7 separate regions of the Homo sapiens genome follow, and regions 1, 3, 4, 5, 6 and 7 are each linked to region 2. Evidence: promoter capture Hi-C in 16 types of primary human blood cells and fetal thymus (Javierre and others, 2016). All regions are on one chromosome and are shown on one strand. The core of a region is centred on a gene start or on the middle of the fragment in contact, and the rest is flanking DNA. Distances in the headings are between cores, read along the strand shown.

The links. The method cuts DNA at HindIII sites, captures the fragments that hold promoters and counts their contacts. A CHiCAGO score of 5 or more calls a contact.
Region 1: a contact is called between the fragment with the promoter of DMKN here and the fragment with the promoter of HAMP in region 2, in 14 of 17 cell types (monocytes, naive B cells, total B cells and 11 more). The highest score is 13.0, in monocytes.
Region 3: a fragment that was not itself captured here is called in contact with the fragment with the promoter of HAMP in region 2 in 1 of 17 cell types (naive B cells); the score reaches 5.1 in naive B cells.
Region 4: a contact is called between the fragment with the promoter of HPN-AS1 here and the fragment with the promoter of HAMP in region 2, in 6 of 17 cell types (total B cells, naive CD4 T cells, total CD8 T cells and 3 more). The highest score is 7.3, in total B cells.
Region 5: the fragment with the promoter of HPN here is called in contact with the fragment with the promoter of HAMP in region 2 in 6 of 17 cell types (naive CD8 T cells, naive B cells, total B cells and 3 more); the score reaches 9.6 in naive CD8 T cells.
Region 6: a contact is called between a fragment that was not itself captured here and the fragment with the promoter of HAMP in region 2, in 15 of 17 cell types (total B cells, naive B cells, M1 macrophages and 12 more). The highest score is 22.3, in total B cells.
Region 7: a fragment that was not itself captured here is called in contact with the fragment with the promoter of HAMP in region 2 in 9 of 17 cell types (total B cells, monocytes, naive B cells and 6 more); the score reaches 14.2 in total B cells.

Annotation. Positions count from the first base shown.
Region 1 is chr19:35,511,637-35,515,053 of GRCh38, reverse strand. DMKN (dermokine) reads left to right here and starts at 1,405. Exons shown (of 16, transcript NM_033317.5): 1 at 1,405-2,004; 2 at 2,264-2,464; 3 at 2,577-2,633; 4 at 3,241-3,291. The coding sequence starts at 1,579. The HindIII fragment of the contact is 13,607 bases long and covers 1-3,417 here.
Region 2 is chr19:35,280,593-35,284,190 of GRCh38, reverse strand. HAMP (hepcidin antimicrobial peptide) reads right to left here and starts at 1,663. Exons shown (of 3, transcript NM_021175.4): 1 at 1,524-1,663. The coding sequence starts at 1,613. RefSeq lists enhancers at 1,292-1,801, 3,188-3,237, 3,328-3,407, 3,498-3,598. The HindIII fragment of the contact is 2,484 bases long and covers 398-2,881 here.
Region 3 is chr19:35,066,633-35,070,097 of GRCh38, reverse strand. All of the region lies in intron 3 of HPN-AS1 (HPN antisense RNA 1), which reads left to right. Among named protein-coding and RNA genes, the nearest start is that of HPN, 27 kb to the right of the region's middle. RefSeq lists enhancers at 852-1,537, 1,538-2,223. The HindIII fragment of the contact is 2,050 bases long and covers 242-2,291 here.
Region 4 is chr19:35,104,130-35,107,864 of GRCh38, reverse strand. HPN-AS1 (HPN antisense RNA 1) reads left to right here and starts at 1,561. Exons shown (of 4, transcript NR_024562.1): 1 at 1,561-1,636. LOC124904701 (hepatitis A virus cellular receptor 1-like) reads right to left here. Exons shown (of 3, transcript XR_007067238.1): 2 at 1,029-3,366. The HindIII fragment of the contact is 15,680 bases long and covers 1-3,735 here.
Region 5 is chr19:35,040,471-35,044,015 of GRCh38, reverse strand. HPN (hepsin) reads right to left here and starts at 2,295. Exons shown (of 13, transcript NM_001384133.1): 1 at 2,144-2,295; 2 at 1,494-1,563. The coding sequence starts at 1,509. RefSeq lists an enhancer at 2,824-3,545. The HindIII fragment of the contact is 15,827 bases long and covers 1-3,545 here.
Region 6 is chr19:35,491,942-35,495,664 of GRCh38, reverse strand. It overlaps LOC124904703 (a long non-coding RNA gene), which reads left to right. Exons shown (of 2, transcript XR_007067242.1): 1 at 1-274; 2 at 475-1,073. Among named protein-coding and RNA genes, the nearest start is that of KRTDAP, 3.3 kb to the right of the region's middle. RefSeq lists an enhancer at 1-819. The HindIII fragment of the contact is 3,900 bases long and covers 344-3,723 here.
Region 7 is chr19:35,442,876-35,446,245 of GRCh38, reverse strand. No RefSeq gene overlaps it. Among named protein-coding and RNA genes, the nearest start is that of FFAR2, 3.7 kb to the left of the region's middle. RefSeq lists an enhancer at 1-32. The HindIII fragment of the contact is 3,169 bases long and covers 334-3,370 here.

The DNA of each region.
Region 1 (3,417 bases), core at 156-2,655, 230 kb before region 2:
AATTCTTAAACTGCTTGTGCTTAGTCCAATGCTGGGTACATACAGAACCGCTGATAAGCTGGAGCTGTAATTATTATTATTATTATTATTATTATTACCACCATCGCTATTATCATCATTAACGAGTCAGAGATGGAATAACAGGGAAGTAGGAGCTGAGGAGGACAGATGGGGATAGTGTTTACAAGGTAAGAAGTGTTGGATGTTATAAGCTGGGGTGCGGATATTGGGGTGGAGAGAAGAGAGAGACTGACTGAGAGACATTGAGAAAGGCTGATGGAAACTGGCCCCTCCTAACTGGGCGATGAACCCCAGTGATACGAAACAGTGGGAGGCCCTGTGGCCCCTGGGAATAGAGAAGCAGCCACACTTGCTGGGCAGGGGTGAGGCGGGGGGAGGCTCCCAGGTTCTGTATCCCGAGCTGGGACTGGGGAGAGGGCCGTGGCTCTCACGGATGGCTCCTGACCTTGCGCTACCCTCTTCTCGCTTGCCATTGCTGCCCTGGCCCCTGGCCTGGGGGATGGGTGGGGTGAGCTGGCCCAGTCCCGCCCCTCATAGGCGCTTATACTCACACGTGCCCCTCTAGGGCTGCGTAAACAGGATGGGTGCCTGGGTCAGCGGCTCCCTCCCTTGGCCTTCCCTCCCACTCGTTCCCTGGGGGTGGCTGGCGCGCCTGGCTGCCCTGCTCCGCGCCCAGCTTTCTCAGCCGGGAGCAGCCTGAACGCTGAGACACCCTGCTGACCACTCAAAGGGCTATGGCCACCTCCTTCCCCGACACCGAGGGTCCCCCCGGGGGCTCTCCCCAGAATCTCAGAAACTGACACGCAGCCCCGTGTTTGCCAGTCTCTCTCTGTGGGCTGGAAGGTGTGGAGGAACAAGAAGGCAGTCACCTGTAGGTGGCAATGCGGGAGGGGAGAGGGAGAGGAGAGGCTGAGGTGCTGAAACCGAGAAAGGCCAGGCCGAGGACGGGCAATGCCTGTCACTCTGGAGCCCCTGAGCCAGGCTGGCTGAGCCTGGGTGGGTCCTGTCCCCTGGGGCTTCCCTGTCCTTACTCCTTTGGTGGGGTCCTGCCAGTAACTCCTCTCTTCTAAGTCTGCCCCCACCCCACCGCCTCCAGGAGCCAACGACAACCTGTCTCCTTAGATGCCCCTGCCCCCACCCAGCTCCCCGAATGCCTGGGGTTGGGAAATGGGAGCACTTTTGCATCACCTCATCCATTTCTCCCTCCCTCCCTGATGCGGCTCACTCTCTGTTTCGACAGAGACTCTCAGACTCACAATAACAGCTGATTACCCTATTGGTGGCTGGGCCCTGAGTCACTGCGGGGAGGGACCTCAGGTTGCCCAGCCCTGTCACCTTCTCCCAACCTAGAGTATAAGGAGTAGTGACAGGGAGGTGGACTCTGAGAAGCCCAGGCAGTTGAGGACAGGAGAGAGAAGGCTGCAGACCCAGAGGGAGGGAGGACAGGGAGTCGGAAGGAGGAGGACAGAGGAGGGCACAGAGACGCAGAGCAAGGGCGGCAAGGAGGAGACCCTGGTGGGAGGAAGACACTCTGGAGAGAGAGGGGGCTGGGCAGAGATGAAGTTCCAGGGGCCCCTGGCCTGCCTCCTGCTGGCCCTCTGCCTGGGCAGTGGGGAGGCTGGCCCCCTGCAGAGCGGAGAGGAAAGCACTGGGACAAATATTGGGGAGGCCCTTGGACATGGCCTGGGAGACGCCCTGAGCGAAGGGGTGGGAAAGGCCATTGGCAAAGAGGCCGGAGGGGCAGCTGGCTCTAAAGTCAGTGAGGCCCTTGGCCAAGGGACCAGAGAAGCAGTTGGCACTGGAGTCAGGCAGGTTCCAGGCTTTGGCGTAGCAGATGCTTTGGGCAACAGGGTCGGGGAAGCAGCCCATGCTCTGGGAAACACTGGGCACGAGATTGGCAGACAGGCAGAAGATGTCATTCGACACGGAGCAGATGCTGTCCGCGGCTCCTGGCAGGGGGTGCCTGGCCACAATGGTGCTTGGGTGAGTGGCTGTGGGGCTGCATGTGGAAATGGGAGGCTGTGGGCTGCTGGGCTGAGATTCTTGGGAAACGGTTGAAAGGATGGATGGATCTCTTACTTGCAGGCTTCTGGGGCAGCTTCCTTCTATGTTCTGCCCCCCTCCTATGCCACCCTGGAGTCCCTCTGCCTGTCTCTCTCCTGGTCTCTTTATGATTTGCCCTGGCTCTTCTCTACCAGGGTCAGAGATGGTCCCACTAAGTGCAGGTATGTTGTTCTTGCAGGAAACTTCTGGAGGCCATGGCATCTTTGGCTCTCAAGGTGGCCTTGGAGGCCAGGGCCAGGGCAATCCTGGAGGTCTGGGGACTCCGTGGGTCCACGGATACCCCGGAAACTCAGCAGGCAGCTTTGGAATGAATCCTCAGGGAGCTCCCTGGGGTCAAGGAGGCAATGGAGGGCCACCAAACTTTGGGACCAACACTCAGGTAAAGTCACCCCCAGACCTGCTACCTGCCACCTCCCTCCCTCCAAGCCCACATGCTCCGCGTGCCTCCCTGGTCCCTCTGGATCCTACTCTCAGTCTCACCCTCTCTGCAGGGAGCTGTGGCCCAGCCTGGCTATGGTTCAGTGAGAGCCAGCAACCAGAATGAAGGGGTAAGAGGAAGGGGCTGGGAACAAATGAAGAAGCCACTGGGTGCAGGCTACAGAGAGCTGGGGAAAGACAAAGAGGAAAGCAAGATGGGGGAGTGGAGGGATTGGGGTGAGAGGAAGAGATGGGGCTGGGCGAGGTGGCTCACACCTGTAATCCCAGCACTTTGGGAGGCCAAGGCACGTGGATCACCTGAGGTCAGGAGTTCAAGACCAGCCTGGTCAACATGGTGAAACCCTGTCTTCACTAAAAATACAAAAATCAGCCGGTCATAGTGGCATGCGCCTGTAATTGCAGCCACTTGGGAGGCGGAGGCAGGAGAATCACTTGAACCTGGGAGATGGAGGTTGCAGTGAGCCGAGATCGCATCACTGCACTCCAGCCTGAGCAACAGAGTGAGACCCTGTCTCAAAAAAAAAAAAAAAAAAAAAAGGAGGAAGAGACGGGCCTGGGCCTGGGGAGGAGGCAGATGGGAAGGGGAGGTGGGAGAAACACATTAGGAGAAAGGAAGCCAAGCCCCAAAGAATGGGAGAGGCCTGGCCTGTGTCCATGGCCGAGGCCAACGTCTCCAAACTCACCGTCCCCAAACTCACCATCCCTTTCCCTCGACAGTGCACGAATCCCCCACCATCTGGCTCAGGTGGAGGCTCCAGCAACTCTGGGGTGAGTGGAGAGGGGCAACCCAGGAGTTGTGCACCAGGAGGAAATGGAGAAGTTCTGCTCCCCTTAGACTGGGCATCATGGAATATGGCCTGGGTGGAGAGGGAGGGAGGAGGGGCCCGTCTTGGT
Region 2 (3,598 bases), core at 414-2,913:
TTACAGGTGTGAGCCATGGTGCCTGACTGGCAGATTAAGTTTTTTAAAACATGGCCAGTGAGATTGTGGTTTTCTCCATTTTAAAAACCTACAGGAGGCTGGGCGCAGTGGCTCACGCCTGTAATCCCAGCACTTTGGGAAGCCGAGGTGGGAGAATCACCTGAGGTCAGGAGTTCAAGACCAGTCTGGCCAACATGGTGAAACCCTGTCTCTACTAAAAAAACAAAAATTAGCCGGGCGTGGTGGCAGCCGCCTGTAATCCCAGCTGCTCGGGAAGCTGAGGCAGGAGAATTGCTTGAACCCGGGAGGCGGAGGTTGCAGTGAGCCCAGATGATGCCACTGCACACCAGCCTGAACGACAGAGCGAGACCCTATCTCAGAAAAAAAAAAAAAAGCTTATGGGGGCTTCCTCTTTATTCCAAGGAAAAATCAGTGTCTGCATGGTTGCCCACAAGACTTAGGGACTGCCCACCCCTCAGCCTTATCCCCAAGTCCCACCATCTCCTCTTGTTCAGCCTGACCCTGGGCTATGCTGGCTTGTCCTCTCCTTAGGTCTTTGCTGCCTCCATCTCTCACCCTCCAAGACGAAGGTCAACTGTCACTTTCTCATGAAACACTTGCTTGACTGCCAGCCCCTTGACCATGCCTGTGGTCCCCCAACCCGTGGCATGTGCCTGCTGTCCCAGCTACTTGGGACGCTGAGGTGGGAGGATTGCTTGAGCACAGGAGGTTGAGGCTGCAGTGAACTATGACTGCACCACTGCACTCCAGCCTCAGCAACAGAGGAAGACCCTGTCTCTAAAAAACAAACCAAAAAAGTGACTCTACTGTGTGGCGAATGGGTCACGGTCACTCTACCACTGTCTGTTATGAGATTCACGAATAGAATGTACTAGACACAATTATTTATTCATGTTTTCATCAGTCTTTAACAAATTCCCTGACCAGGATGGAGAAATCTCCTCTCTCATCTACCTTGTTCATGGCCTCGTCCCCACTGTCTAGAATAAGACTCCACACGGCGTAGGGGTTCCGTAAATACCCATGGAATTAGGACCTTCCAGTCCCTGTCACTCGGTGCTTCATTGATTTCTGTTCTTTTTTGGAGATGGAGTCTTGCTCTGTTGCCAGGCTGGAGTGCAGTGGTGCAATCTCAGCTCACTGTGCAACCTCCACCTTGCGGGTTCAAGCAATTCTCCTGCCTCAGTCTCCCGAGTAGCTGGGATTACAGGCACCTGCCACCAAGCCTGGCTAACTTTTGTATTTTTAGTAGAGACGGGGTTTTACCATGTTGGCCAGGCTGGTCTCAAACTGACCTCAAGTGGGCTGCCTGCCTCAACCTCCCAAAGTGCTGGGATTACAGGCATGAGCCACCGTGCCTGTCCTGGTTCCTGTTCAGCTGCCAGTACTCCTGAGACGTCCTGAGCTCTGCTCAGTGCTCGGGTGTCTCCAGTGCCCTAGGCTGAGGCCTGGCTCTCCCATCCCTGCTGCCCTGCTAAGGACCCAGGCCACTGGGCTCTCACCTGTTGTGGGAAAACAGAGCCACTGGTCAGGCTGGCGAGGAGGAGGAGGAGCAGGAGGCAAGCGGCCCAGATCTGGGAGCTCAGTGCCATCGTGCCGTCTGTCTGGCTGTCCCACTGCTGGGTCTTGAGCTTGCTCTGGTGTCTGGGACCGAGTGACAGTCGCTTTTATGGGGCCTGCCAGGGGAGGCGGTGGTCTGAGCCCCCTCCCCTTTGCTCTGTCTCATTTCCAAGAAGGTGGTGGCGCCGAAAAGGCGGGAGAGATAAGCGGGAACAGAGCGACAGGGAACAGGGTTGTGTCACCCTCAGCCGGCAGAGGTGTGTTCAGGGGGTGGGGCAGACGGGGTCACAGACACACACTGCTCACCAGCCATCTGGGGAGCCCTTTCCCCATCACGATGTCATTCTGCTGATCGGGAAAAAAGTTCCCCCTTTTGCTTCAGCGGTTAAGCAGTTTGATGAGCAGAATCAAGGTTCCGCTCTCCTCCACTCACTTCCCCATCGCCTACATGCACACGGGGCATGGCCAGCAGCCGCCAGGCTCCTCAGGAGTGTCTGGCATGTTGGGGGAAGCATCCATTGCTTTAAGCTCTCACCACACGTGCATAGGTTCTGGCAGGGAACACTAGATAGCCCTGAGCAGGGCAAGCATCAGCGTGTGCCCGATCCGCACGTGGTGTTTTCCCAGTGTCAGACCCTTGAGATGTGGCTCTGGTAACTGGAAAATGTTTGAGCAAACTTTTGGCCATAAATGACAGCAGTAATATGGCCCAGCACAGTGGCTTATGCCTGTAATCCCAGCAATTTGGGAGGCCAAGGCAGGAGGGTCGCTTGAGCCCAGAAGTTCAAGACTAGCCTGGGCAACATAGGGAGACCCCATCTCTACAAAAAAAATTTTAAACAAATTTAGCCAGGCGTGGTGGCACACATCTGTAGTCCCAGCTACTTGGGAGGCTGAGGCAGATCGCTTAAGCCCAGGAGGCTGAGGTTGCAGTGAGCTATGATTGTGTGACTGCACTCCAGCCTGGGTGACAGAGTGAGACCCTGTCTATAAAACATAAAATAGCAGTAATAGTAATAGCTAACATCTACAGTCCGATGAGTACATTTTATACGATGGCACATATGTTGACTCACTTCTGCACCAACTCAGCCTGTGCTGCCTGTTCTCCCAGCAGCACTTACTGCCCCACCTTCAGCTCTGCTCTGTATTCAGGGGCTGCCTTCTCAGTCACCCAACCCCAGAGGCCTGGGCTCCCCAGACCCTGCTCCCTTTTAGGAACCTCCTCCCCGTCGGACACTCATTTCCTTCACTTTACAGAAAAGGCACTGAAGGCAGAGATCAGGGCATGGCCCAAGCTTGCTCAGCCAGAGGCAGAGCTGAGATTCTAGCCTGGACAGCCTGACTCCAGGGCTTTTGCTCTTACCCACCAGGTTTCCCCATCTCCCCTAAAACACAGCAGGGCACAGCGGTATGCTAGACCTGGCTCAACATAGCAGACCATGCACATCTCGAAACTCTGCATTCAGTGGCATCATGCTGGTATCCTGAAATCAGCAGCAGTGGGAGTCTTGACACCCAGAAATTGGCAAGCACTACAAGCCAGGGATGTTTTTGGGGAGCCGGTTCCTTAGGACACCACTAGCTGGGGGATGAACCCAGGCTGCCTGACTGCAGTGCCTTCATTCCTTTCCACTACCAGGCCCAGCTCAGGGTGCACACGGCCCAGGGGATCAACAAACCTTGGTTCCAGATGGGCCCTTGCACATTTTGCCTCTTTGCCTTTTTCATTCCAGGGCCATCCAGTGTCAGCCAAGTCACCAGAGCCCGGGGATGTTGTTGTCGAGGAATGAACACTTCTTCCTGGTTGCTGAACCACTTTCAAGGCCCACTCAAGCACAGAAATGCACAGGCCCTGCCATCTGCCTCCTCATCCACACCACGTGGGAGGCTCCTCTTGTCACAGCCTGGGTAACAAAGCGAGACCCCATCTATACAAAAACTTGGCTGTGGTGCTACGCACCTGTAGTTGGTCAAGGCTGCAGTGAGCCGTGATTGTGTGCCACTGCACCCCAGC
Region 3 (3,465 bases), core at 17-2,516, 210 kb after region 2:
CTTTTTATGCAGAAACTAAAGTCCATCTCCCTACTTATGCTGCTATCTGAATGTTCACAATAATTATTTCTGAATATAAAATGAATAGCCTTCACCATCATTGCTAATCATGGCTGTGATTTTATGTATGAAATAACTGTTGTGGCAGAGTAGCTGTACATTTCTCCTTCAACCCAGCTGGGAGAATGCCAACTTATAACCACATATGGAGCTATCTGTTCCAACTAACATCCAGAAAGCTTTTCTATATTTGAAAAGGACTATGTAGATATAAATGCTAAATAGGAATGCAAAACTTGGCTTGGGTTCCTGATGTAGTTGCACTAATTCTGTAAGATGGGTCAAATATTTCTGATTCTGAGCGGCACCACAATGACATGGAAGTAATTTTCATATTCAGCTTTTCTGAAGACTGAGACCCTGGCAGGAACTGAAAGCAACCTTGTGACTGTTATTATTCTTTTTAAATATCTTCCTAGCTCTTTGGGGTGAGTGGCAAGGTTGCTGGGAGCAGGAGGAGAAACTGAGGCTCACTGACCCCTGGCATACAAGGGAAACCAGTGAATGGCTGTTGAGTGAATCACAATCTCCCCAGCCCCTCCACTCCTCCAACAAAGCAACAGTGCAGACAGAACTCAGAATGGCTGTCAGAGGCGTTTGAACCAGAGCAACTCCATCTTAAATAGGACCTGGGTAAAGTAAGGCGGAGACCTGCTGGCCCGCATTCCCGGTAAATTAAGGCATTCTAAGTCAGAGGATGAGAGAGGAGGTCGGCACAAGATACAGGTCATAAAGACCTTTCTGATAAAACAGACTGCAGTAAAGAAGTCGGGAAAACCCACCAAAACCAAGATGGCCATGAAAGTGACCTCTGATTGTCCTCACTGCTACACCCCCACCAGCGCTATGACAATTTACAAATGCCGTGGCAATGTTGGGAAGTTATCCTATATGGTCTAAAAAGGGGAGGCGTCAATAATCCACCCCTTGTTTAGCATAACTAAATAATAAATCAAGACTAAATCAAGAAATAACCATAACAATGGGCAACCAGCAACCCTCGGGGCTGCTCTGTCTATGGAGTAGCCATTCTTTTATTCCTTTACTTTCTTAATCAACTTGCTTTCACTTTACTCTGTGGACTTGCCATGAATTCTTTCTTGCACGAGATCCAAGAACCCCTGGGGTCTGGATCAGGACCCCTTTCCAATAACATGGCCACCTGGTTTTTATTTTCCCAGCAGGATGCCTGTTGGCTTTTAATGACCAAATTTCCATCAGATCCCCTAGAATAAGGCCACATCCCCCCCAGACTTCCCAGGGCAGGGCCATGCCTTCTTCAGTGCCCCTCACACCCGCCCTTCTCCTCACCAGAGCAAACTGTGTCCCTCCAGGACATGGTCACCTCAGTTTAGAACCCCCAGGGTGGACCATGTTCTCTCAGAGTCCCCAGACTTCCTAAAACACAGGTACAGTACATTTCTCAGCTGGCAATTACAAAGGAAAACTCAGTCACTCCGTGTTGTAACTCAATACGTTTCTAACAAAGCAAGCCGTAGGTCAGGTCTCAAATTACATCCCACATGCCATGGGTAGAACACCACAGCCAGAGGTAGACGTTTGGGGAAACTGCACTGAGGCTCTGCTAACACGATGTGGGCCTGGGGGCTCCTGACCAACAAAGCAGTGGTGGGGCTCAACCTCGCCAGGGGTGTGGGGATCGGGGAGTGACGCTGGGATCGTTTTCCAAATGCACAGTTTGTCAGTTTCTCAAAGGAGCTCTTGTAGATCATCTATATTTTAGGAAGCTGGGCTGGGTGCAGTGGCTTAGGCTTGTAATCCCAGCACTTTGGGAGGCCAAGGTGGGCGGATCACCTGAGGTCAGGAGTTCGAGACCAGCCTGCCAACATGGTGAAACCCGTCTCTACTAAAAATACAAAAATTAGCCAGGTGTGGCAGCAGACATCTGTAATCCCAGTGTCAGGCCTCTGAGCCCAAGCCTGCATGTATACATCCAGATGGCCTGAAGTAACTGAAGAATCACAAAAGAAGTGAAAATGGCCGGTTCCTGCCTTAACTGATGACATTACCTTGTGAAATTCCTTCTCCTGGCTCAGAAGCTCCCCCACTGAGCACCTTGTGACCCCCACCCCTGCCCGCCAGAGAACAAACCCCTTTGACTGTAATTTTCCACTACCTATCCAAATCCCATAAAACGGCCCCACCCCTATCTCCCTTCACTGACTCTCTTTTCGGACTCAGCCTGCCTGCACCCAGGTGATTAGAAAGCTTTATTGCTCACACAAAGCCTGTTTGGTGGTCTCTTCACATGGATGCGCGTGACACCCAGCACTTTGGGAGGCCGAGGCAGGTGGATCACCTGAGGTCAGGAGTTCGAGAGCAGCCTGGCCAACATGGTGACAGCCCGTCTCTACTAAAAATACAAAAATCAGCTGGGCGTGGTGGGGCACGCCTGTAATCCCAGCTACTCGGGAGGCCGAGGCAGGAGAATCGCTTGAACCCAGGAGGCGGAGGTTGCAGTGAGCTAAGATCACGCCACTGCACTCCAACCTGGGAGACAAGAGTGAAACTCTGTCTCAAAAAAAAAAAAAAAAAAAAAAAGGAAATTGCTTGGAAGCTGTGGTCCATGGGTGATGTATGATAATTGTTATTATTTAAAGTCATGGTGAACAGGCTCCCCCGCTGAGCCTTTCTTCAGCAGAACAGCAGGTTTTCAGCAACATGCGGCTGACTCCAGGCAGGAAACCCCTTAATGTGTCACAATGTTGGGGCAGCAGTGCCCCCTGGTGGCCATCGGGGCTGCATGAGGCTCTGCAGAGGCTCTACAGAAGGGGGTTCCTCCCCAGAAGCTGCCCAGATGGAGAAAGGGGTTGGGGGAGGGTCTCAGGCTGTGTTCCCAGCGTCTCCCTATCTCCACCTTACAGGGCCCCGTTTTCCGTGTTGGTTCAAGGTAGATGTCTTTTTTGCTCACTGAGCATCTATTTCCACTTCTGGAAATAGCACCCTATTTCCTTTGGGACTCCCACACTCAGGTCACACGATTCTTGAAGGCCTAGCGCCTCCCACTCCACCCCGCTCCACCCCTACCGCGTACATCCGGTGCACAGTGATTTGCCAAGGGATGAGCACGTGACCCAAATCTGTACAATGGGAGCTGGGCCTGGGTTTTTGTTGTTGTTGCCTGGGACTTTTTCTGCAGTGATTGGGAAAGAGTTTGTGTGGAAGGGGACATCTCTCTCTCTGGTTGTAGGAGAGGCTGCTTGGAAATGAAGCTAACACAGCCTAAGGCAGATTTGAGAGAGCAGCTGGATCCAGCTGTACCTGAAGCCAATTTGCTCCAGGAAAATTCCAGTTAAGTGAACCAATTAAAATCTTAAATCTCAAATCAGTGGGAACTGAGGGACCCACACTCTCTGTCTGATTTGCGCCAGGTCCTAATTCTTC
Region 4 (3,735 bases), core at 312-2,811, 180 kb after region 2:
GGGTTCCAATCCTAGCACAGCCACTTTCTCCTTATGCGACATTAGGCAAGCAAGTCTGCCTTCCCGGGCCTCAGTTTCCCCATCTGTACCACTGGGATAATAGCAGTCCATCTGCTGTGCTGCCCTTTGGAGTCAATGGGCTCGTTGTGTGGGACGCTGACAGCATGACTAATTCTGAAAGCTGGTTCCCTTCCTGGAAGGGGGTGGAGTGGGAGGGGTGTGGCTGTGTGTTTTCCAATAGCCAACAATGGAACTCTTGTAGGCAGGGGCCCTCGGGCCTAGAAAACACATCCACCCCTGTGGGTTCTAGACAAAAGTTTCAGGTCTCAGAGTGGAGGTTTACCAGGGCATTTACACTCTTTGAAGATTGTTAAGAAGAAATACTGGTTTCGGGGGACATAGGGACACAGGGGTGGATTCCCATTTTGCCCTCTCTCCCTGCAAGAAGTAGCTGCCAGAGATGGGGGGTAGGGGCAGGATCTCTCCCACCTACAACTCCTGAGTAGGATTAGATAGGCTTAAGAAAACCTCTGGGCTGCACTGATTGGCTCAGTGGGGTTTAATCAAAGTGAAGCATTGGAATTTTTGTTGAGTACTTGGGGTAAGAAAAGATTCGGGTTTTGGACAATGGGGAATACACATTTAATGACTGGAAAATTGGCAGTTATTTTGCCATCACAAGAAAAGCCAGCCTGAGGACAAAGCTAATGCTATAGAGAAACACAGACCAAGAGAAATGCTGAAAAACTGAGTTAGCACCCTGATCAAACCATGCCTGATCTCCCTCTGGAATTTTCAGTTATGTAATTAGTCTAAAAATCATAAAACACAGTCTGTGACTGGTTTGAGTTACCTTTTATGAGGCTTTCTGTAACCAAAACAGCCAAAGTGGTATATAGGGAACTTCTGTGGACCCAGAATCTCTACACTTTCACTAGGCTATCACATGATTTTTACTTAGTTTGAGCCAATGTATTTCTTTTAGCTTCAATCGGTTCAAGAGTCTCTAGATGCCAATGAGTGCTTACCTCATCAGGTCGGGGCTCTCTCTGCAGACAAACCTGGGTCCCATGAACCTACATCTTTGAAATGAACACAATGGGACTGCTGGACTTGTTTCTCCTTCCCAATTTCCACCTTGAAAAGGCGCAATGAGCTGGAGGAGCCACAGGACTTGGTAAAAGCAGAAGCGCAAGTGCCTGGAAACTCAACACTCTTCCGGTCAAAGGAGGCGACGTGTGAGTGCATGGTTGCTTGATAAATGCCAGGGGAGAGTGGGTGGCACCCAAAGATGCCCCTGAGGGTCTCACATCTCTGCCCCGGCCCACAGGAGGACGGGGAGCAGCACACGGCGTGGGTGGAGGCCTGGCAGTGGCAGAATTGCTCACAGCGCTCCCCAGTCCAGAAGGCCTCCCCAGCCGGGTGGTGGTACCTGCCCCCCATGGAGCAGCTGCACTGGATTGGGGGCACGCAGTCCATGCCACTGAGCACAAAGCCTGGGTCACACTGGCAGCCATCCTGGCATGGTGTCAGGCAGCTGTCGGGCAGGGCAGGCTCGGCACAAGAGCTAGGACAGGAGGAGCCGCAGAGCTCGTAATTGCTGCGGGGAGGACAGGCCAGCTCTGGAAGAAAACAGGTAGGAGTTAAATAATTGAGCAAGCATTACTATTCTGGAGCATTTCCAACCAGAATAGGACCAAGGGAGCGGAGAGAGGGTTGTGGGGGCCAAGGGTAAGTCATAAAGGCAAAGGAGGGGAGGTGGAGGCATCATCAGGATGTAGCATAATGGTGGCGGCGTGGTCACGGCGGTGATAACGGTGGCGGCGTGGTCACGGCGGTGATAACGGTGGCGGCGTGGTCACGGCGGTGATAACGGTGGCGGCGTGGTCACGGCGGTGATTAACGGTGGCGGCGTGGTCACGGTGGTGATAATGCTGGTGGCGTGATCATGGTGGTGATAATGGTGGTGGTGGTGGTCGTGGTGATAGTAATGATGATGATGGTGGTAGGGCTGGTGATGTTGTTGGTGATGTGATGGTGTTGATGGTGATGGTAATGATAGCGGTGATGGTGACAGTGATGATAGTGGTGAGGGTGGTGGTGGTGGTGATGACAATAGTTGTGGTTGTGGTAACAATGATGGTGGTGGTAGTGATAATGGTGATGGTGATTATAGTAGTGATGGTGATGCTGATGCTGGTGGTGATGGTGATGCTGGTGGTGATGGTTATGATGGTGATGATGATGTTGATGGTGGTGGTGGTGGTGATGATGATGGTGATGGTGGTGATGGTGATGATGGTGGTGATGGTAGTGGTGATGATGGCTGTGGCTGTGGTAACAATGATGATGGTGATGGTGGTGATGGTTGTGGTTGTGGTAACAATGATGGTGGTGGTAGTGATGATGGTAATGCTTGTGGTGATGGTGGTGGTGGTGATGATGGTAATGCTGGTGGTGGTGGTGGTGGTGAGGCTGGTGGTGGTGGTGATGGTGACGCTGGTGGTGGTGGTGATGGTGACGGTAATGATGATAGTGACTGTGATGATGACAAAGGTGACGAAGATAGTGATGAAGAAACAACCTTGGTCATGCTGGGTCATGTTCAGGTTAGTTCGTTACTTCAGCATAACCCAGACCATCCTGACTGATGCAATAGCACTCAGTGTCATCTGTTATTGTTATTGCAGAGTTTTAAGCAGGTAGGTTCTTCGCGGGAACAGTTAGCCAGAAAGGCATGCAGTGGGTCACTTTGGGTGGTGTTGACCTAGGAGGACATCCTGGAAGTGGTATTGGGCCAGCTGGGGAGGTCAGGCTGAGAAAGACCCTCCCTGGGAATACCCACTTACTGCAGGCCAAGAGGTGTCTCCAGGGCTGCATGGGAACGCTGCGCTGCTGGCTTTCCTGGGCGTAGCTCCCCAGTATGGCACACAGAGTCTCTCTTGAGCCCCCCGTGGCACAGAGGTCATGGATGCAGTTCTCCACATGCACCTGGGGATCCACGTCCTTACTGCAGGCCCTGTAGGGCCCATCTTGGGTGCCCAGCAAGCCACAGAAGGCCTGGTATAGGGCTGCCTTGTCTGGTGGGCACAGAGGGGCTGGGCCCCCATTAAGCTGTTGGCATCAGAGAGCCATGTGCTATCAGAGCCGCTGAAGTCATCCTGGGTATCCACGCTGAAGTCCCCGCCCAGGCCACAGAGGGTGTTGGTGTAGGTCTCAGGCACTGCCACTCAGAGGGCATGGGATTCGTGAAAGGTCATGGAGAGGCCGGGTGCCACCTGGACTGTGATGGCCAAGGGCGTGAAGAAGGCCTGGAGTGTGCCCCCCAGCCAGAGTCAGGGGCAGGCCAGCCTGGGAGCCGTTCACCTGGAACACAGACACCCAGGCTACGTCGGGCAACCACGTCCAGACACCTGCCCCTCCTGGGCCCCTGCTCCTGCCACTGCTGAGATCCACTCTGCACATAGCACCCAAGGAGCCCTTTGAAATCGCACATTAGATCCTATCCCTCCTTTGCTCAAAACCTTTCCATACCTCCCTAGTACACTTGGAGAAAATCCAAACTCGCCACCGTGGCCTGGGCAGTCCCACAAAATAAACCTCTGTCCCCTCTGTCCTCATCTTGTCTCACACACCCCTTCACTCATCTGCCCACTCTGCGCCAGCTCCCCGGGTCTCCCCACCACTCCTCCAACACACCAGGCACCCTTCCAGCCTCTGCTCCTCTGCCTGGAC
Region 5 (3,545 bases), core at 1,046-3,545, 240 kb after region 2:
TCGGAACCCTTCAGCATCTGTGTCCAGGTTCGACCTCCACACCCCTAGCCCTGACAGCAGGACTCCCCTCCAAGACCAGCCCGGAGCTGCCAGGGAGGCACCAGAGCCCACTTTGTGTCTGTTTCTCTTTGTACCCAGGCCATCTCTGTCCATTCGGGCATTTTCTGCTTTTCTTCCCTGGCTCATTCACCCATGGGCCCAAGCCCTGGGGCTGTCCTTCCGGCAGCTCCAGGAAAGAGATTGTCCCCAAGGAGCTGGATTCTGTCATCCACCTGCTCGGCTAGGGTGCAATGCCTTCTCCTGAGTAACTGGGAGCCTGGGTTCCCTCTGGACTGCAGCTGATTGGTTTGGGGTCTGAATTGCCAGCTGTGCCGAGACCCGAGGAGGCCAGAGATCTGAACTAATCATTTCAGCCAACACGCTCAGTGCTTCCTGCCCATCCTGGCATTTCAGGCCTCGCCCCACGCTGTTGGACATGCACTGTCACCCTCTCCATTTCACAGATGAGAGAATGGAGGCCCAGGGAGAACACGCCGTCTGCCCAGGGCCACACAGCTAGAAAGTGCTACTGCCCAGGACTGAGCCCGGCTATCCTGGTTGCGGAAGAAGAGAGGGAGTCAGCCCCAGCTAGGGGAAGGCAGAAAGAACAGGACGCCCCTCCATGCGCCCCTCCAGCTGGGTCCCATGTGTGAGAGGTAGAAAGGAAGCCAGGCTAGCTGGGGGCTGCCCAGAGACTCCCAAGGGCCAGCAACTCCATGACGCAGTCTCTCTCTCTCATCCTTATGGTGGTTTCTCTGCCGTCTCTCCCCTCTCCATCCATCCAGGCCCAGTCCAAAGTCCTCCCTCTGCTCTTTTGCCCACAGAGCCAGGAGGTGGAGGAATGTCTGGGATCGGTGGGGGTCCTGGGTCTCTGGGACTCCGAGTTTGCCAACCTCTGTCATGACAGCTCTGCTTGATGGCATGCGTCTTATATGCAGAGCCCCAGACCAGTGCCTGGTGTGTGTCATGCACTCAGCAACCTCACAGAGGGAGGACTGGTATCCATGCTTGACCCAGAGGGAGACCAAAGCCCTAAGAATAATGTCACTTGCACCAGATCACACAGCAAAAAAGATGGCAAGAGCAAATTCAAATGCAAGCCTGTGTGTTTCACTCCAAATCTGTGTCCTTAACCATGACAGCTACAGCTTCCCCGCCTCAGCCCCAGCAGAGGACAAGTCCAGAGTTAGCTGAGAAATCACTGGGGGATGAGGGGAAACTGAGGCAGCACGCCAGGAAGGTCACATAGGGTAGAAGGGAGGCTGGTGGTGGCACAGCTGCACAGAAAATGTGGTTAATAGTTAATCAGGTGGAGGAGGACTAACAGGGGTGGGGATGCATCTGGGAGGGGTGCCCAGAGAGAGGGGGCTCCGAAGAGTAGAGGGTAGAGAAAAGAGCACAGAGGGCGGGGCGCCAGGCAGAGCCAAAGCTGGGGCTCAGGGAAGGGGACTCACCCTCCTTCTGCGCCATGTCACTGCCTCTTGTTAATGATTCCCTGGCTGACCTCCTGGGCCAGGGTGGGACCTGTGAGGAGATGGACGGGGAGGCAGGGCCTGGGGGAGCCCAGCCCAGCCCAGTCCTGGCGCCCCCAGTCCCAGGCGTCCATCCAGGCAGGCTGTAGGGACTGGGCCTTGGCCAGAGCACGCCGTGATCACGGACGCAGATTGGGCTGGGTTCAAGGATGGGGTCAGTGTCTGACCAGCAGCGGGGGGACGCCTGGATTTGCAGGGATGGGGACCCCCATGCCTGAGCCTGGTGGAGCAGGGGACTGAGGATCCCGGTTTGAGGGAGGAGACAGCTGAGGACCTGAAATCATAAGTCTTGGGAAAGGAGGAATTTGGGGGCCAGGACTCCCTAGTATGAGGGAGGAGGGGCCTGAGGGCTGGAACTCCTGGGTCTGGGGAGGAAAGGACTGGGGTCCAACGGCTGAGTCTGAAGGAAGAGCAGGACAGAACACCTAGGTGCTTGGGGGGACGTCATAGTGCCCCCTCTTCAGGTCCCCAGGAACCCCTCTATTAGGAGGTGGGCATTAGGCTGGGTGGGGGGATGAGGGAACCCCTGTCCTCAGGGCTGGAACTGTGAGTCTGGGGGCCCTTGTCCTTACCCTGGGGTCCAGCAGGTGGGGGCGGAGCCTCGAGGTAGTGCCGGGGTCGGGTCAGTCTCCAGGCCTGGGCAGGAGCATGGTGGCCCCGCAGCAGCGGGCGGCCTGGAGGCAGAGGCGGTGGCGTGGGGCCTGCTAGGCCAGGCTGCCTCACCTGAGGAGGAGGGGGCTGGGCGAGGGGCGGGTGAAGGGGCGGGGAGGGGCCGGACCATTCGATTGGCAGCACTGGAGGCCACCTGGCTGATGGGGCCGGGCTTGTGGGGGCTGGACCAGGCGGGCCCAGCTACGGGGCTTGCCTTGGACCTCCAGGGGGACCCAGGTGTGCCTGTCTGCGGGGATGTGGGAACAGGGACAGGCCTGGCCGGAGGCTGGGGGTTTAGGGAGAAAGTGCAGGCTGAAGGGTGGGGGTCTGACCAGAAGAGATCAGATGGAGGGCCCCAGCTGCCCTAAGCCCACTCCACCCTCACCCAGCGAACCCTTCCCCCCGCCCTTTCTGCGTCCTCCAGCCCCAGGTCCTGGCTGTGCCCGCCACTTGCTGCACCTCTGCCTAATTCCCTGCCCAATTCCTGGGCCCCAACCCCAGCCCCAGCCTCTCCCGCCTGCCCTGCTCATCCTGCCCCGGCCCCTCCCCCGCTGGCTTCCTACAAGTCACGGGGCTGGTTTGCTTTGGCAGCCTCCGCCCGGCCGCGGTGACCTCTGGAGCCAGAAAGTCCTAGCACTAGATAGGGGGGATGGGGGGCTTGGCCGGGAAAACACAGCGCTAAGGGCAGAGGCCCAGGCCAAGTGGCCGGAAGCGTCCGCAGGCAGATAACACACTGTCCCGCCAGCAGCCAGGCGCGGCCCACGTCAGACCCAGGGCCAGGTAAACACCAGACGTGCAGGGTCACCGCCAGACACCTGCCCGTGCTCAACCACACGCCGGACACAGTCGGCCTCGGCTGCTTGCCCCAGATAGGCCACCCGCACAACCGGCCCCACCCGCTTACCCACACGTGCCCGCTGTGCCCAGCCAAACCCACCTCCACCGCACCCATTTCCTCCACTCAGCCCAGGGCCCCTCATTGGGACACGCTGGTTTAGCCTGGCTTCCTCTGCCTTTCCATCCATACCCGTCTCTCCTTCCCTCTCCTTCTCCCCAGCGCCCACCTCTCCAGAGACTCACACTGCTGGGCACACCACACACCCCATGCCACCCCTGCACCCCAGCATCAGCCTCGATTCTCTTCCCTCCACGGCACCCCCTCCCTTCCTGGCTCCGTTCCACTCTCCCTCACCCCTGAGCCCATGGCTCCCCCAACCCCGACACAGATCAGGCACTAAGTGGCTTCACCTGTGGGCCCTCAGGTAGGGTCCCTGGAAAGCGGGCTCGAAGATTCGGGGACGGGAATGGGGGGAAGGTGACGGG
Region 6 (3,723 bases), core at 1,044-3,543, 210 kb before region 2:
TGCCTGGGAGGGCCGCTCCTCTGCTTGGCCTCCCTTCTCTCCTGGGTCCTGAAATCCTGATGCTGGTTTGCACTTGTCCTCCGGAGTTCAACGCCATAGGAGGGCCTTGCAGTACCTCCTAGAGGCCACAGGGGGGAGAGCGCGGGGCCCTCCCAGGGAGGACGCTCCGTCCTCGCTGCACAGAGAGCTTCCCGGAGCGTGGGTGGGGGTGGAAACCCGTGGGGAGCTGAAGTCTCCTCAGCCCAGTCACTGAGGCACCGGGGGAGACGCGGAGGTGAGCAACACGGTTCTTGGCTCGTGAGATGTTCTTGGCCCAAAGAGCTGAAAGCGGCTCTTGAAAGCTTAGAGTGACACCCGAGGCAGGCTAAGGTCCCCTGGCATGAGGGGCCCTCCAGTGAAGGGTGGGTACCCCTTTCTCCCTTCAGGGCTCCTCCAGTGACCTCCTGAATCCCCAACTTCCATCTTATTCTTTAGATCCCGTTCTTCCACAACGCCCTAGAAGGAGCCCCTGCTCGGAACCTACCACCAGCTTCTCATTAGCCCTGGAATAAAATCCCCATTCCTCACTACGGCTCTATGCGATGGGCCTGGCCTCCCTCTCTAACGTCCCTCTGGGCCTACTGGCACAGGCCATCAGGGAACATGGGCGGCTGTTACCAAGGTCTTCAGAAAGCCAGAGCTTCATCTGCTTTTAGGACTAATTTCAAATGTCCCTCCCTGGGCCACCTTTTAAAATTTGTATTTTAATAGAGACGGGGTCTTGCCATGTTGCCCAGGCTGGTCTGGAACTCCTGGGCTTGAGTGATCCTCCTGCCTCAGCCCCCTAAAGTGCTGGGACTACAGGTGCGAGCCACCGCACTCGGCCCTCAGGCCATCGACCAAGGAAACCCTGTCAGCATCATATGGCCCCGTTTTCTTCGCAGCACCTGTCCTTCTCTGAAGTCATCTTGTTTGCGTATCTATTTTTGGTTACATTATGATGTCTCCTTCGCTAGGACATGGGATCTGTAGGGCAGGTCTTTTGTCCATCTACAGCCCCCAGTACCAAGAGCCAAATAAATATTTACAAATTAGCCAATGGAGAGAGGGATTGGAATTAAGTGGGACCAATCCAGGAAGACTTCCTGGGAGAGGTTTAAGCACCGGGCACATAGGGTGGGCGGCAAAGGAAGAAACCACACCTGCTGGTGGATGAGGCTGCTTTCTTGGTTGTGACAACACCGACGGAGGGAGGAAGGGATGGGACAGGGATGCCCTGAGTTCTGCCCCCTAATACTCCACATCCCAGTCCCCTCTCTCTCCCAGGATTCCCGGCTTCCCACCTAGTGTTCGCCAAGGCCCCGAAAACCTAGTGTCTCTCTCTTGGAATCCCCACTCCCTCCCTAGACCCAGGAGGCTGGCTGCCAGGCCCTAGGTGTGTCTCACAATGGGGCAATCCAGGCTGGGCCTCGCCTCCTACCCACACTCAAGTTCTGGCAGATTTGGGGTGGGGTGGGGGCAGGCCTGTGGGAAAACAGAGGTTTACTGGTATTCTCAGTGAGGGAGCTAGGAAGTCAAGCCGACCTGGAGATGTGATGTTGCAGAGCCAGTCTCTGCGGCTGCCTGACTCCATTAACCCTCCGTGATTCATCCAAAGCTGAGCTGCGTATCGGGCAGATTTTCCTGCAGCCCATCACCTGAACTGCTGGGACCCTCTCCCAGGGAGAACTCCCTGCCCCTCTCTTTCCCCATCTGCCCAACCCAACTCAGGGAACACAAACTACTCAGGCAGCGTAGATGGAGGAAGAGGGAGGAGTTTGGAGAGAGACACTGGCTTCTAAAGTTGGCCGCTTACAGCAAAAATCACGTCAAGATGGAACTAGCTGGGCGCCGTGGCTCACTCCTGTGATCCCAGCACTTTGGGAGGCCGAGGCAGATCACTTGAGGTCAGGAATTTGAGACGATCCTGGCCAACATGGTGAAACCCCGTCTCTGCTAAAAATACAAAAATTAGCTGGGTGTGGCGGCGCACGCCTGTCATCCCAGCTACTCGGGAGACTGAGACAGGAGAATCACTCCTCCTGGGAGGTGGAGGTTGCAGTGAGCCGAGATCATACCACTGCACTCTAGCCTGGGCAACAGAGCAAGACTCTGTCTCAAAAACAAAAAACAACAAACAAACAAAACCCCAAAAAACTACCCTCAGAAGGTGCCAGGAAGATGCCAAGTGGAAACAAATCATGAGTCCAACACAGACAGCTTTTTTTCCAGCATAGGAAGAGAATTTCTTTGGTTGAGCACACAAAGCAGTTGGCCTGTGTTTAGAGGTATGATACAAAAAGTACCTATTTTTAAACAGCAGAATGTTGAACACTAGATCCAGAAACGGAACCCTATCTGTAAACACATACTTGGTGTGGCAAGATGATTATACTACTGGAGGCATCTGGAAACGGAGGCAATCACAGGTTCATTCGGGGGCTGATGCCACTAACCTTCATTCTTCGTTTTCATTTTGTCAAGAGTGTGCAGTTTGATTCATTTAAATGAATGCACCTATGCTTGGGGCTGCCACCTCTGATGGTGCAGGCTATGCACCACAATGGACACTGTAAAGGGGACCTGTGGGGGTTCGATGCAGTCTGCCCCCCACTCTCAGGACATGGGTCTAATTCACACAGGGTGTTACATGTGCTGTAACATAGCCTGTCCAGCATAGAGAGGAGCAATATAGGTTCAGGCTCTGGAAGCCCAGCGTTCTAATGCTGGTCCTGTCACATTCTGGCTGTGTGACCTGGGGTGAGTTATTTAACCTCTATATGCTGTGGTTCCCCCGCCTATAGAATGTGAATAATTATAGTACCCACCTGTGTCAGAATCACTGGGACATTTCAATGAGATCGCGTATTTGGAGCACTTAGTACAAGGTCTGCCATATAGTAAGCCTCAGTAACTCAGCTAACATTGTTATCAATACCATCGGGTGGAGAGGAAAACATAGGGAGGGCAATTTATTGTCAAAGGAAAATCACAGATTAGACTCTAGAGCAAAACAGAAGACAGCGTTGGATTGACCGATGCTCTAGATCACCCAGGCCAAAACTGGCACTGGGTCCCCTCACCCGCCTGTCAAATCGTAGCTGGTTATACAACATCAGTTCTCTTTTGTCTGATTCTTCACTCCCTGGAGTCGACCCTATGCGGATGGAATGGTGGCTAATGAGCTTTTTCAGTCACTGTTCGTTAATTAGCAAGGATTCATTACACAGAACTTGTGTCCTCCAGAAAACCTTTTGGGAGGTGCTCCACCCACCTCAGTCATTCTCTAACTCGTCCCCTCCAGGAGCACCAACTCTGTGACATCCACTACTGTGTGGCCATCTGGGCTAAGGGAGTGTTCTCTAAGCAGTGTTCCCTCAGGTAGCTCTGCAAAGGGGAAGCTGCCATTATAAAATCAGAGGAGGCTGAAGAGGATGTCTGGGACTGGGGTGTGGGGGCAGCGTGAGGATGGAGCTGAGGTGCCCAGCTTCTGGGGTTCGTAAAGGTTGTTCATGGATGCCGTCCAGCCCTCCCACCCAGGGCCACCGCCACCGTGCATTGCATCAGGTTGTGTTGATAAGGTCTTGCTTTTCCCTGACAGCGCCGGTCCATGTCCCAGCCCCTCCCTGTTACAGCAGGAGCCGGTTTGGCCACCTGAACCTCACTGTGGAGAAGGCTGCTTGACTAGGACATTGTGTCACAGTG
Region 7 (3,370 bases), core at 669-3,168, 160 kb before region 2:
CTTATCTAAAGTTCTGTGTAATCACTTCCACATTCTTAATTCTCACTCGCCCCTCAGTCCACCCTAATCTGGGTTCTGTGCCTATTTTCCATGGGATTTTCTCTTCCCGATGTTAGCAGTGACCTCCATGTTCCTAAATTCAGTGGACTTACGCTTTTCTTATTTTATTAGCATTCAACACAATTTCCACGCCCTTCTGGAAACATCCTCTTTTCACAAATTCTGATACGTTACGCTGCTAGCTTCCCTCTCTTTCCTTTGGTCACTTCTCGTACCCCTTTGCTAGCTCACCATTCCCCTACTCATCCCCGAAATGGTGACTTCCTTCAAGCTTGGCTCCAGGTTCTTTCCTGTTCTCGCCTGTGCTCTCCTTCTAGTCGACTGCAACTGTTTCCGTAGTTCCAGTTACCACCTTCATGACACCCCTGGTTTGAATCTTCACCCTAGGTTTCTGTGAGCTTCACATGTACACGCTCAACTGCCTAGTTGACACTGCCATTGGGTGTCTCACAGGTGTCCCAAATCAACCAAATCAAATGTGTCCAGACCTGGCCTCAGATCTTCCTTCTTCCACCCTTCCCTGTCTTGGGGCGTAAGATCTCTTCCCATCACATCTCCTGCACCATTATCTTAGAGTCAGTCTTTTTTTTTTTTCTTTTTAATTTCGAGACTGAATCTCACTCTGTCGCCCAGGCTGGAGTGCAGTGGCACATAGTCTCGGCTCACTGCCACCTCTGCCTCCCAGATTCAAGCAATTCTCATGCCTCAGCCTCCCGAGTAGCTGGGATTACAGGCATGTGCCACCACACTCGGCTAATTTTTGTATTTTTAGTAGAAACGGGGTTTCACCATGTTGGTCAGGCTGGTCTCGAACTCCTGACCTCAAGTGATTCGCCCGCCTTGGCCTCCCAAAGTGCTGGGATTATAGGCGTGAGCCACTGAGCCTGACTAGAGTCAGTCTTAAAGTGAATCTCAATATTATCTTCTTCCTTATCCCTAGAATGCAGTCTGATGTACTCCCCAAATACTTATGGATTCCAAATATGAATCCATCCATCCGTCTCCATCTCCATCATCCCATCTCAGTGCCATCATCCCTACCAGGATTTCAGCAGGGCCCTGACTCACTTCCTCTCATCCATCTGCTTCCCTGGCAGTCAGTTCTCCATACTGTATTAGTGGAATCATTTTAAAAATGTCAATCCAATTATACGACCTTCTTGTCCTTTCAGAGACTTCTCACTGCTTTTAGGAGAAATATCAACATCCTTAAAAAGGCCTGCCTAGCATGGCCCTTGCCAGCTTCCACTCACATCACTCTTCTCTCTCTTTGCTGTCTGGGCAGGGCCATTTTCCACTTCTGTGAATGTGTCATGTTTTCCATCTGCCATGGGGAGCTTGAACCAGCCCCTGCCTGGTATGTCTTTATTTCTTGTTACCCATTCCAACTTTCACAGTTAATTTGTAGCTTTCTTTCAGATAACCATTTACTTCCTTAAGAAATCCCTGTCTGGCTGGGCACAGTGGTTCACACCTGTAATCCCAGCACTTTGGGAGGCCGAGGCAGGTGGATTACCTGAGGTAAGGAGTTCGAGACCAGCCTGGCCAACATGGCGAAATCCCGTCTCTACTAAATATACAAAAATTAGCCGGGATAGTGGCGCACGCCTGTAATCCCAGCTAGTCAGGAGGCTGAAGCAGGAGAATCACTTGAACCCAGGAGGCGGAGGTTGCAGTGAGCCAAGATTGCGCCACTGCATTCCAGCCTGGGCGACAGAGCAAGACTCTGTCTCAAAAAAAAAAAAAAAAAAAAAAAAGGCCCTGACCTCCTAGATTTCGATTCCCCTCTTACAGGTTAAGCATCTTTTCTATTGCTGAATAGTATTCTGTTTTAAGGATATTTCCTATTTTATTTATCCATTCATCTGTTGATGGATATTTGGTTGGTTTGGGTTTTTTTTAAAAAGTTTTTGTCTAGTATGAATACAGCTGTTAAGAACATTCTTGTGTGGAAATGTTTTCAGTGCTGTTGGGCAAATACCTGGCAGTGTATTGGCCAGGTGGTATGGTAAAACGTTTTATTAACTTTTTAAGAAACTACCAGTTTTCCAAAGTAGCTGTGCCATGTTGCATTCCCACCAGCAGCCTACGAGCATTTCAGTTGCTCCACATCCTCACCAACACTTGACAATTGTTAGTTTTTAATTGTGGGCATTCTAATAAGTATGCCATGGTATTTTTGTGTGTGTGTGTGAGACAGAGTCTCGATCTGTCGCCCAGGCTGGAGTGCAGTGGCGCCATCTCCACTCACTGCAAACTTCACCTCCTGGGTTCAAGCCATTCTCGTGCCTCAGCCCCCTGAGTAGCTGGGATTACAGGCACGTGCCACCACACCTGGCTAATTTTTGTATTTTTAATACAGATGGGGTTTTGCCATGTTGGCCAGACTGGTCTTGAACTCCTGACCTCAGGTGATCTGCCCGCCTCAGCTGCCCAAAGTGCTGGGATTACAGGCGTGGACCACCGTACCCGGCCTTTGTTGTGGTCTTAATTTATACTTTCTTGATGATTATTGGTGTTAAGCATTTTTTCAAGTACTTATGAGCCATTTGTATATCTTCTTTCGTGGAATGTCTGTTTAAATATTTTGCTCATTTAAAAAATTTTAGGCTGGGCATGGTGGCTCACACCTGTAATCCTAGCATTTTTGGAGGCTGAAGTGGGTGGATTGCTTGAGGTCAGGAGTTTCAGACCAGCCTGGCCAACATAGTGAAACCTCATCTCTACTAAAAATACAAAATTTAGCTGGGCGTGGTGGCGGGCGCCTGTAATCCCAGCTACTAGGGAGGCTGAGGCAGGAGGATCGCTTGAACCCAGGAGGCAGAGGTTGCAGTGAGCCAAGATCATACTACTGCACTCCAGCCTGGGCAACAGAGTGAAACTCTGTCTCAAAAAAAAAAAAAAAAAAAAGAAAAATTGGATTATTTTCATATAGTTGAGTTCTGAGAGTTCTTTATTATATTCTTGGTACTAGTCATTTGTCAGATGTATATATTACCAATATTTTCTGCCATTCTGTGACTTTTCTCTTCTTTTAATTTTTTTTTTTTTTGAGACAGAGTTTCACTTTGTTGCCCAGGCTGGAGTGCAGTGGCTCCATCACAGCTCATTGCAGCCTTGACCTCCCAGGCTCAGGTGACCTTTCCGCCTCAGCCCTCCAAGTAGCTGGGACTGCAGGCACCTGCCACCATGCCTGACTAATTTTTCTATTTTTTGTACTGATGAGGTTTTGCCATTTTGTCCAAGCTGGCATCGACCTCCTGAGCTCAAGCAGTCTGCCCACCTCGGCCTCCCAAAGTGCTGGGATTAC